3 separate regions of the Homo sapiens genome follow, and all the other regions are linked to region 3. Evidence: promoter capture Hi-C in 16 types of primary human blood cells and fetal thymus (Javierre and others, 2016). All regions are on one chromosome and are shown on one strand. Each heading gives the region's core, a stretch centred on a gene start or on the middle of the fragment in contact. The rest is flanking DNA. Distances are from core to core; before and after follow the strand shown. Region 1 overlaps VTI1A (vesicle transport through interaction with t-SNAREs 1A). Region 2 overlaps VTI1A (vesicle transport through interaction with t-SNAREs 1A). Region 3 holds the start of HABP2 (hyaluronan binding protein 2).

Region 1 (3,406 bases), core at 704-3,203, 1.1 Mb before region 3:
TTATGCCCATGGGGAGGGGCAGAGGACAACTCAATACTGTTTTCTTTGACTCGTTTGTCCACTTGCTTTCTTTCCCCAGCCGTTCCTTCTCCTCTGCCTACCCTTTGGATGCCTGGATCCTTCAGGCTTCCTCAGTACTTACTCCCATAACCTCCTCTGTGTGTTATCATCTTTCCTGTTCCTTCCATGGCTGCGTCTATACTGACTGGTATTTGTAGCCCAGACCTCTTGGTAGTTCTGGGTTTATATTTCTTACTATTTATCCCAGAGTCTTTTAAACACACTCAGATTCAACAAGTACTGGTTACTTCAGAGTTATCGTTAATTTTTCAACCTTGTACATCCACTGGGTCACTGAGAATTAGCAGATCTACCACCTAAATATCTCTACTACTGAAAGCCTTCATGGTTTCTCTATCTGGATAATTGTAGTACTATTTCCTGATTCTGTTCTTCTGTCATTCAAAACCCTGTACACCATTCCATAATTAGCTTTTGAATACACTGATCTGTATATGTCATGCCATTACACAAAATCCCAGAGTCCTCATTGCCTGCTGAATAAAATCCAGGTCAATTTCTAGGTATTCTATCTTGTTCCATTGCTTCTTCACGTGTCTAATAATTTTATTATAGTATACTTGCTGTTATGGCCTCTATGTTGTTATAAAGCCTAGATTTTATTGTTATTTTTTAGAACAGCACAGCTCAACCTTTTTTTTCATTATCACTTCTCCAAGGATACTTTTTAGACATGTTTTTCCTAATCGTCCCACTCCTTCCCCTATTAAATTTTAATACCACTGATATTCTGTATCTGTACATCTGTTCATGTACTATGGCTCCTTGGAGGGCCACACATCTTTGTAATATCTTAAGATTCATCATACTCCCAAGAACTAATTTTTGCCTCTGTGGACATGATATTGCTCCTGTTGACAATGCATGCTTTAGACCATGAGAGGCTTTATTCAGACAGTTAGATAATTTACTGGCAAATCAGATTGGTCCTTTCAGAGTTTATTGTTAGACTTTTTAGAACACATTTTGAGTAGCCCTACTTTTATGATTTGGCCTTTCTTGGGTTCCTTTTGAATGACTGTAGTGTTTAATAAGTGCTCTCTCGCCTATGTTTGTTTGGAATTCCATCTCTCTGCCCTGGGCAACCTCTAAAATATCCATTCAATCCATTACTCCCCAGTAGCTGTTCTCTGTGAGACCTCGTGGGGTCCCATCCTCTACATATGCAAGTTCATTTTCAGCCAAAGACTTAGGGGACCACTTTCTCGATTTCTGGAGCTCCTTCTCTTTGTGGCTGCTTCTCACCATTACCCTGCTATGTTTGATGATGCATCCCAGCAGTCCTAACTCCAGTGTCTGCCTCCTAAGTTCAGTGACTTGCTGCACTCCCTGTGGGCTCCCCCTCCGTGTGCTGCAATTGGGAAAGTGCCTCCAGGCTGAGAGCCATGCGGGGCTCATTTCACATGTTTTTCTTCTTTAAGGAATTACGCTCCTCCACTGCTTGTTGTCCAACTTTGGAAAATAATTGATTCATCCATTTTGTCCGTGTTCACAGTTGTGTAGAACAGGAGGGTTTGTCTTGTACCAATTACCCCACCATGGCAGGAAGTGAAAGTTCAGTGTAGATTTAATGTTTCTTAATTCCTTAACAGATAATTTTATATATCAGAGAATGAAAAATAATAGTCTGCTGTTTACTGTTGAAACTTTCCCTCTCAAGGGTTGAGTCGAAGTATGCTAAAATGAATTGACACTGGACAGATTAATGGGAAAAACCAAACAAAATGTATTGTGTGCGTAAGTACAGGGGCCACACGCAAAGTAAGAGACTCAAAGTAGGGCCACATAACTGAAGCTTTTATACTGTAGTGCAGAAAAGCATAGAGATTTGGAGTGTGGGAACAGGTTTTCAGAGCAAGAACGGAGGAAGGCAAGCAAAGGTTGTCTTGGCTCTGCTGTTGGAGCCTGGCAGGCAGCAGCCCCCTGGAAGAATGGATGGGAGCCTGTGGAAAAGCTTCCTCTGTTACCTTTAAAAGTGCTGGGTGCGGTGGTTCATGCCTGTAATCCCAGCACTTTGGGAGGCCGAGGCAGGCGGATCACTTGAAGTCAGGAGTTCACATACCAATGTTCACATACCAGCCTGGCCAACATGGTGAAACCCCATCTCTACTAAAATTGCAAAAATTAGCCGGGCATGGTGGCGCACACTTGTAATCCCAGCTACTTGGGAGGCCGAGGCCTCCCTTGAACCCAGGAGGCCGAAGTTGCAGTGAGCTGAGATCGCACCACTAAACTCCAGCCTGGGCAACAGAGCGAGAGACTCAGTGTCAAAAAATAAAATAAAATAAAAAAGCATCAGACTTTCAGTCTCCCTTTCCTGTGAGTTCATCTTTCCAAGATCTGGGTAAAGCCAATACGGGTCAGGGTGGGGGCGCTCAGAGAAAGCCTGTTTTGCATTTGCTGTTTACTTAACTAATATTGATTTCCTCTACAAATGCAAATCTCCAGCTTTTCAGAGCCATTTTTGTGTTTGTAGCCCTTCTGAATAGCTATCTCAAAAATACACCAAAGAAGTATATTTTGGGGTGGCATATTTTGGTTTTCTTCATTACGGTGGCTTATCATAGAATATAATTTGTAGCTGACTAAATACCTGTTTAAAGGATTTTAAAATTCATGCGGTAATTTGCAGTCAGCATCGTGTGTGTGGGAGGGTGTTAAGGAAAGTTAGGGGTCATACTTACGTGCCCATTTATACTGTTACCATTCCTGATTATTCTGTTCACTTACCTAATTTCATTCTTATTGATTTTTTTTTTTTTTTTTTTTTGCTTCTTACAGCCTATAATTGTTCATTTTTGGCTTCTTGTGTAGCCTCAAAGGAAGTTAGGAATATTAGGTTCAGAAGAGGTCAAATCTAATCACCTTATGTTTTAGATGAAGAAATGGAGGACTGAGGAGACCAAATGACTTAAAGTCACACTGCTTTCTGGAGCCAGAATCAGAATCGAGTAACTAAGCACCCGTTTTAATGTTCTCTTCACAATCCTTTGCAACCTGCCCGCCTTTGAGTTTCCATAAAAATGTATTTAATAGTCTGTTTAGGTATTTGAAAACAACTTTTAAAAAAAAAATTAGAATTCCTGTAAGCTGTTCTTGTAATTTCTTCCTTCAACATTGATATGAGGTTAGCTAGGGCCTTCTCATGTCAGAATGTTCCAGGAAAATGAACCAGCCAAGAGGAAAAAAAAAAATGTAGTTAAGGAATTTTTCAAGTTTAAGATTAGTTTGCTTCTTAAGAAAATTAAAGCAAATTTTAAAACCCTAAATTTATACAAACAAAAAACCCTCCAAAATTGTATAAAATGTTTGACCAAGTCTCAGT
Region 2 (3,320 bases), core at 96-2,595, 1.0 Mb before region 3:
TTATGATGCAGTTTTTTTAGGCATCTGAAACCTGACTGTAATACATATAATTATAGTCTGCCAATTAACTATAAAGTATGTTAATTTACTCTTAGGTACATAAACATTTCTGCCATGATTAGAAATGTTAAAAATTCAGAAATTAAGAATTTTTCAAAAGCATTTTTAATGTCCCTCATACAATACCCTTTGCATTTAATTCCAAATTAAATGCTTTGTATACATTCATTTCTGATTCATATTCATTTCATTCAATCAAATATAGCTAATGCTGATTTACAAAGAAGGGGCAAGAAAATTACCTACTTTGTACATTTGAGTACTTTTGGGCTATCAGCTTTCCAAGGATTACTGTCTTAAGCATTATCATTCTATTCTTTGAAAATACCGTATTTACCATTCCATGTGGCAACATTTTATTTCTTTGAAAGAGTTGAGTTCTTGAATGTAGTGATGTTGTATTTAGAGTGGAAACATTAATAGTTCATAACTTGATTGCATTTCATGAGAACCATTCTCATAAAAGGAAAAACACAACTTATAGAATAAAATCATAAAGCCTTTCATAGTGAAGTGTGATAATGGGGCAAATAAACTGTTCCAAGCTTTGATTTTGAACCCTAATACTCTCTCAGTTTCTATATGCAGAATTATATTGATCAGTGACTTTTAATAAATCCTAAATAGAAGATTCAAAATATAAAGAGTAGACTATTTCCAAATGTGGGGAAAGTTTTGTGGCAAAGCAATATTTAGCAGATAATGATTGCTTAATTTCTTAATACAAGGTTCTCTTAAGTTCTGATTTGGGCTTGCTGTGCATAAAGTGTGTCAAACTTCAGCTACAGACCAGGGGGTGAAGTCGGTCAATTTAATTCCCCAAGATCTAAAGAAGGTCGGTATCATTTCATATAGCCCTGGCAGAGCAGATCATTACCAGGCACAAATCTGTTCGTTACGTGCTGAGGGTTTATAGCAAAATAAATAGACTGTCATCATAAGTTCAGAAAATTGTGTGTTCGACCCACGATAATGTGTAAAGGGCGTTTAATAGAGTTCAGCATTTATTCGTTATCTGTATGCGAACAGAGACAGCAGTCGCGTTATCAGCTTTAAAAAAAATTCGGTAGTTCTGGGGTCACGTGACACACCTCACACACACACACACACACACACACACACACACACACACACGTGCGCACGTGCGCGCGCGCGCATGAACCCTCACATGCTCTGCAGTGCAGTTTTGATTTTAGTCACAGCAGAAGGCTTAACCACAAGAGATTCCACTGGTTCAAACCAGCGTAAACCAGATTTTTTCAGCCCACAAAGGAACAGATTACCTCTTGTATCAAATTCTGCATTGGGGGAAAAAAAATCTTTGTTTCAGAAAAGATGTTGATTATCATAACTCAACATGGTGGCATTGCACACTCTCATGTTGCCTATGATGGAGCTAGTAACTCGAGAAAATACGAAATCACGACTTACAGTCCAGTCTACGCATTGTTAATTTTCAGAAATAGGCCATCTTTTGTTTACTTGAATGAATAACTCCCGGCCTAAGCAAAGAAAAAAAAAAAAAAGAAAAAAGATAAAGATGAAAAACCCTCCCATTACCTAGCTTGGCTACAAATCCGATGTAGAGCTTGAATGCAGCCATGCAGCACAAACAAGATAGAACGTTTTTTGTTTGGAACCTATTGAAAAAACAAATGGGTAGCATTTTTAAACACTCATTGATTATGGCAGGGTGGCATGCCCCAAATGGTCTCTATTGCTGAAGAGTAGTTTTAAACTTTGGCCCTTTAAGTATCATAGTCAACCAAAGAATAGTGCCCCCAGAAAGAAAAGATCGCTGGCCGATCAATTCCCAGATCGTCTCTTTCTGAGAATTAATGTTTGCCTTTTTCTCCCATGATGTTGGGATAGCAAAGAGAAAGATTCCGATATATGATAGGCCAGGTATTTTAGCTTAAAATTTTGCTTCTTCTGGGGAAGAATTATAACTTTTCATGTGAAATGAAAAGATGATTTACTTGTATGTAACTGGATGGTTGCTGAGTGTGTTAATTAAAAATAAAGAAAGCTTCTTATTTTGAAACGATGATAATAAAGGTTTCATTTTCACTGAATGTACTGTGAGACATTACATGATAACTTATGTACCCTTTTTATAAAGATTCTTAACAGTTTTTAAAATCTTATTCTTTGGTACTCAAAATACTTTTCATATAACAAATGAAATAACAGAATAAGCTGGAATGCATACTGCCTTCCTTGAATTCGGGACAAAAACAGCGTTAAGCATTGAGATATCCGGGCTATAGTAAACATGATACTTACAGAGACTTATAGTGAACAATTCAGGCACATTTCTCCCAAAGCAATAGTTTAATTTATTGACCTGCATATGTCAAGTGTTATAACAGATGTTACAGATATTTGGATGTTTAAAAATTATCAGTCGTAGACCTGAATTGCTGAGGATGCAAATTTCAGACCTAGAATGTGGTTTAGTCTGTTACAACATAGGTTTCAGTTTCTAGTCATTGCAGAAACTGTGGTCGTCATCTCACTTATACAGTGATATTTGTAGTTTAGAATAATGTCAAACACACACACACCCACACGTACACACAATGAGCCAGATATATGGTTATATATTTTAGTTCCTAAAGAGTTAAACAGCTTGTTTTATCTGTTATATTTAAGGTAAATAGAAAAATGTTCTAAATAAGAGAATTAAAATGTTATCATAGGATAATTTACTAAGAAGTAAGGAGTGATTTTTTATTTGACTTTAGTGAAAACAAAACTGCAATATAAATGAAGTAAGAGCTCATTGCCAGTTTACAATATGAAGAAAATTGAAAACTGAAGAAATCATTCAAAAATTAAAATGAAAACATGCCACATGATTGTGGTAGCCTCTTAAGCAAAATAAAAATGTAGAAATTGACTCTTACATACACAGAAGTTCATATGATCGTGAATTTTTGATACTATGATCTAAATAAGTATTATCTCTCCTGGCATACTTTATTTTCTATTAAAATAACATTACTTCCAAATGCAGTCTTATTACTAGAGTGGGTACAAGTATAACATTAACTAACATAATAGTTTGTTGTTTTAAATACTTACTGGAACCAAAGCATGAGCTATTAATCATTTTCATTTGTAGGTAAAATCTGAAATCAGTTGTCAAGATTCCAAATAGGGAAACATCCTGAAAACTTGTATATACAAAACCTCTTCAATGGTACATTCTTAGAAGAGAGGAACAGTAAACTTGTTTTCTTTCTTTATAATATAGA
Region 3 (3,120 bases), core at 483-2,982:
TGCTGTAAAGAAGAAATGCATGCAGGGCTTCTGAGGAAGTAATGTTTGGGCTAAGAGATGAAAGATGCATTAACTAGGAGAGTTAACTAAATTAACTTGCTCAGGAGTGAGCAGGGTTCCAGTTAACAAATTTATGGTTGTCATAAGGATTAGGGGAAGGACAGAGTAGGGCTAGAGAAGAACTTTCTAGGAAAAGGGACTACAGCCAGGCGCAGTGGCTTATGCCTATAATCCTAGCACTTTGGGAGCCTGAGGCGGGTGGATCACCTGAGGTCAGGAGTTTGAGACCAGCCTGGCCAAGATGGCGAAATGCCGTCTCTACTAAAAATACAAAAATTAGCCAGCCATGGTGGCATACACCTGTATTCCCAGCTATTCAGGAGGCTGAGGCAGGAGAATCACTTGAATCCAGGAGGCAGAGGTTGCAGTGAGCCAAGATCACGCCACTGCACTTCAGCCTGGATGACAGAGTGAGACTCTGTCTCAAAATAATAATAATAATAATAATAAAAAGAAAAAGGGACTACTAACATGGGCTTGTATTATGGTGATCAGGTGGATGTTGATGGTATAGGAGGCGGGGTGGGGGGAGTTGATGGCTGCCTAAAATAGGATGGAGACAAAAATATGTGGATAAAAGAAAATAATGTGGAAGTCATTTAGGAGGTAAAATGGCAGGACCAGGACTTGGCTAGTCCTTCAAGGCTCATCTGGTGACTGGGGCATTCTTTTGGGCTGGGATCTGTGGGGCCCTCCCCGGCTAGCAACTTGGCTTTCAGAAGTAGATGCAGCCACTGATGCAGTCCACGTGCCAAACAGGGATGGCAGGTAGGGGCAGGGCTGGGCAGGGGGGCACAGGTGAGCACATGCCTCCGCTGGCAGCAGCATTTCAAAACCTGGATTTATGACTCAAGTCAGGAGGATTCCTGGAACCCAGGCATAGATTTCTGTGGGCAGTCAGTTGTTTACAGGAGATTAAGATCATGCCTATTAAAGAGATCAATTGTGTCCACAAGAACCCACACTTAATAGGTAATTGCTGCTTGACAGAACTCTACCTGCAACCAGCATAGCTAAATAAGGAACATAGGAAACAATTGTCCTGAAATATGAACACCATGTTTTTTTTCCTCCGCTTGATCAAAGAAAGACTCCAGCAAAAGGGGAAAAAATAATTAAAAAGTAAAAGTCTTACCTAATGAGGTTTAAAACAAAACTTTTGAAGCCAACAAGCAACTGTGGGCAACACTTCAAAGGGCCCAGAATCAATGTTTGTCAATAGCAGTTTTGCATCCTTTAATTTATGTCTCATGAATATAAAGTGTGATGTTATTAGGAGCCCATCCATGCCTTAATTCTGTTTGAGATTTGATGAACCAGAAGTCTATTAACATTCTGTACAAATCAGCACTGGCAGAGGCCTGTGGCACAGGCTTCACCTGATCTTTTATCCTGAGGCTGGGATGCTAGTCACGCTGTCAGGCTTCCTGCTCGGAACACCCAGCAGCTGTCATGTGCACCGTGGAGCCAGGGGGCTATGTCAGCTACTTTCTTTGGAGAGTTTCTCCCCAGAAGAGAAACCACTTCATGACTCAGCCCAGCCCCAAAGTTGCCATTTGTTTAATCAAGATAGTTAGTTTGCAAAACATTAAACATTAAACAGTATTTGATGCCTAGTTAATAATTTGCATCCTCTTCATTTGTTCCTGAATCCTTGGAGACTGACATTTTTCCCCCCTAAAGGCATAGACAACAAAAGAAATTTTATTGAGAGGAAAACACAAGTCCTTAAACTGCAAAGATGTTTGCCAGGATGTCTGATCTCCATGTTCTGCTGTTAATGGCTCTGGTGGGAAAGACAGCCTGTGGGGTAAGTGTTCTTTTCTAATATTTGTAGTTGAGAGACTCCGAAGTTTACTAGGAGGACCAAGCTAGGCTGGGAGTGATGAGAAACTTTAGAGTGAAAGGCTGGAGTTGCCAAGTTGGAGATGTTCTAACTACAAGAACCAATGCAGGCCTGTGGCTTGGTTTCTTTTGAGCAGCCACTCCCATGGGAACAGGTGTCTGACTTGAGCCATCTTGGAGCGGAGCCTCCATGAATGCATTCCAGCAAAGGAGACTGGGGCAAGAAAATGTGCCCCAGGGCATGGATTGTAATCTGTCATGGATCTCATAGACCCCTTTGAGAAGCCATGGAAAGCTATAAACTCTCTCCCCAGGAAAATATACCTATCTATTGGTGCTGACACACACAGTTTTCCAGCGATTTGTGGCTGACACTAGGGTAAGAAGCAATGTGCTATGGCCTTAGAGGGGAAGCCTGCTGACTGCAAAAGATCCTGGCAGTGGGTCTGCATAAATAGTTTGGATTTGGGGAGAAGCTTTGTGTTTAGTACTTTGTCTCCTTTTCCCTGTGACAGCAGCAGATGAGGCAGAGAAGGTGAGCAGGGGCCCAAGGGAGGTTGCAGTGCGCAGGGAAGGGAAGTCCCATCAGAGAGTCTTGAACGGGGGACTCAGGACCTTCCGGAGCAGATGACTTGTCAAGATGTTAGTTCCTTCTGTGTGCCATGGTCCAAGAGTGTCAGATGGATCTCTGTGGGCATGGAAAGAGGACCTTGCACAGAAATAGAGTCTCCTTGGAGTTCCGTGCTGGTTGTGGTCTGAGGCATGAATGTGGGCTTTGGAGCCAGGGTTCGAATCTCAGCTTTGCCACATTCTAGCTGTGGAATGTTGGGCAAGGAACATAATCTCTCTGAGCCTCAGTGTTGTCTTCTGCAAATCAAGTGCTAACCTCTCATAGATTTGGGGAGGGCCACAAGTAAACGAGGTCATGTATGTGGCTTGCAAATAAATGTGAGCTCTACTCCCTTAAAATGTCAAGAATGAACACAACTTCTCCATAAAAATCAGAGAATGCTCCGCCTTGTTCGGGAGGGGTGGTAGAAAGTGGGCAGAGGATAAGAACTAAAATAACAGTCATAACCTCTCTGTCTTATTAAGTACCTTTGCATTTTGTTCCCCATTTCACTCCATAGAGCGTTTCCTGAATGAAGCAGATTAAGTTACAGTTTTCTGATTAGCATGTTTTTAAAACAATAGCTTCTCCTTTCTTTTCCGTCA

What was found. Contacts are between HindIII fragments. The CHiCAGO score rates a contact against its expected background, and 5 or more counts as called.
Region 1: a contact is called between a fragment that was not itself captured here and the fragment with the promoter of HABP2 in region 3, in 1 of 17 cell types (M1 macrophages). The highest score is 7.0, in M1 macrophages.
Region 2: a contact is called between a fragment that was not itself captured here and the fragment with the promoter of HABP2 in region 3, in 2 of 17 cell types (M2 macrophages and M1 macrophages). The highest score is 5.5, in M2 macrophages.

Annotation. Positions count from the first base shown.
Region 1 is chr10:112,468,538-112,471,943 of GRCh38, forward strand. The region is part of intron 3 of VTI1A (vesicle transport through interaction with t-SNAREs 1A); the gene reads left to right. Among named protein-coding and RNA genes, the nearest start is that of VTI1A, 23 kb to the left of the region's middle. The HindIII fragment of the contact is 159 bases long and covers 1,875-2,033 here.
Region 2 is chr10:112,529,911-112,533,230 of GRCh38, forward strand. All of the region lies in intron 4 of VTI1A (vesicle transport through interaction with t-SNAREs 1A), which reads left to right. Among named protein-coding and RNA genes, the nearest start is that of VTI1A, 84 kb to the left of the region's middle. RefSeq lists an enhancer at 1,346-1,395. The HindIII fragment of the contact is 1,484 bases long and covers 604-2,087 here.
Region 3 is chr10:113,551,321-113,554,440 of GRCh38, forward strand. HABP2 (hyaluronan binding protein 2) reads left to right here and starts at 1,733. Exons shown (of 13, transcript NM_004132.5): 1 at 1,733-1,870. The coding sequence starts at 1,802. The HindIII fragment of the contact is 3,226 bases long and covers 1-2,379 here.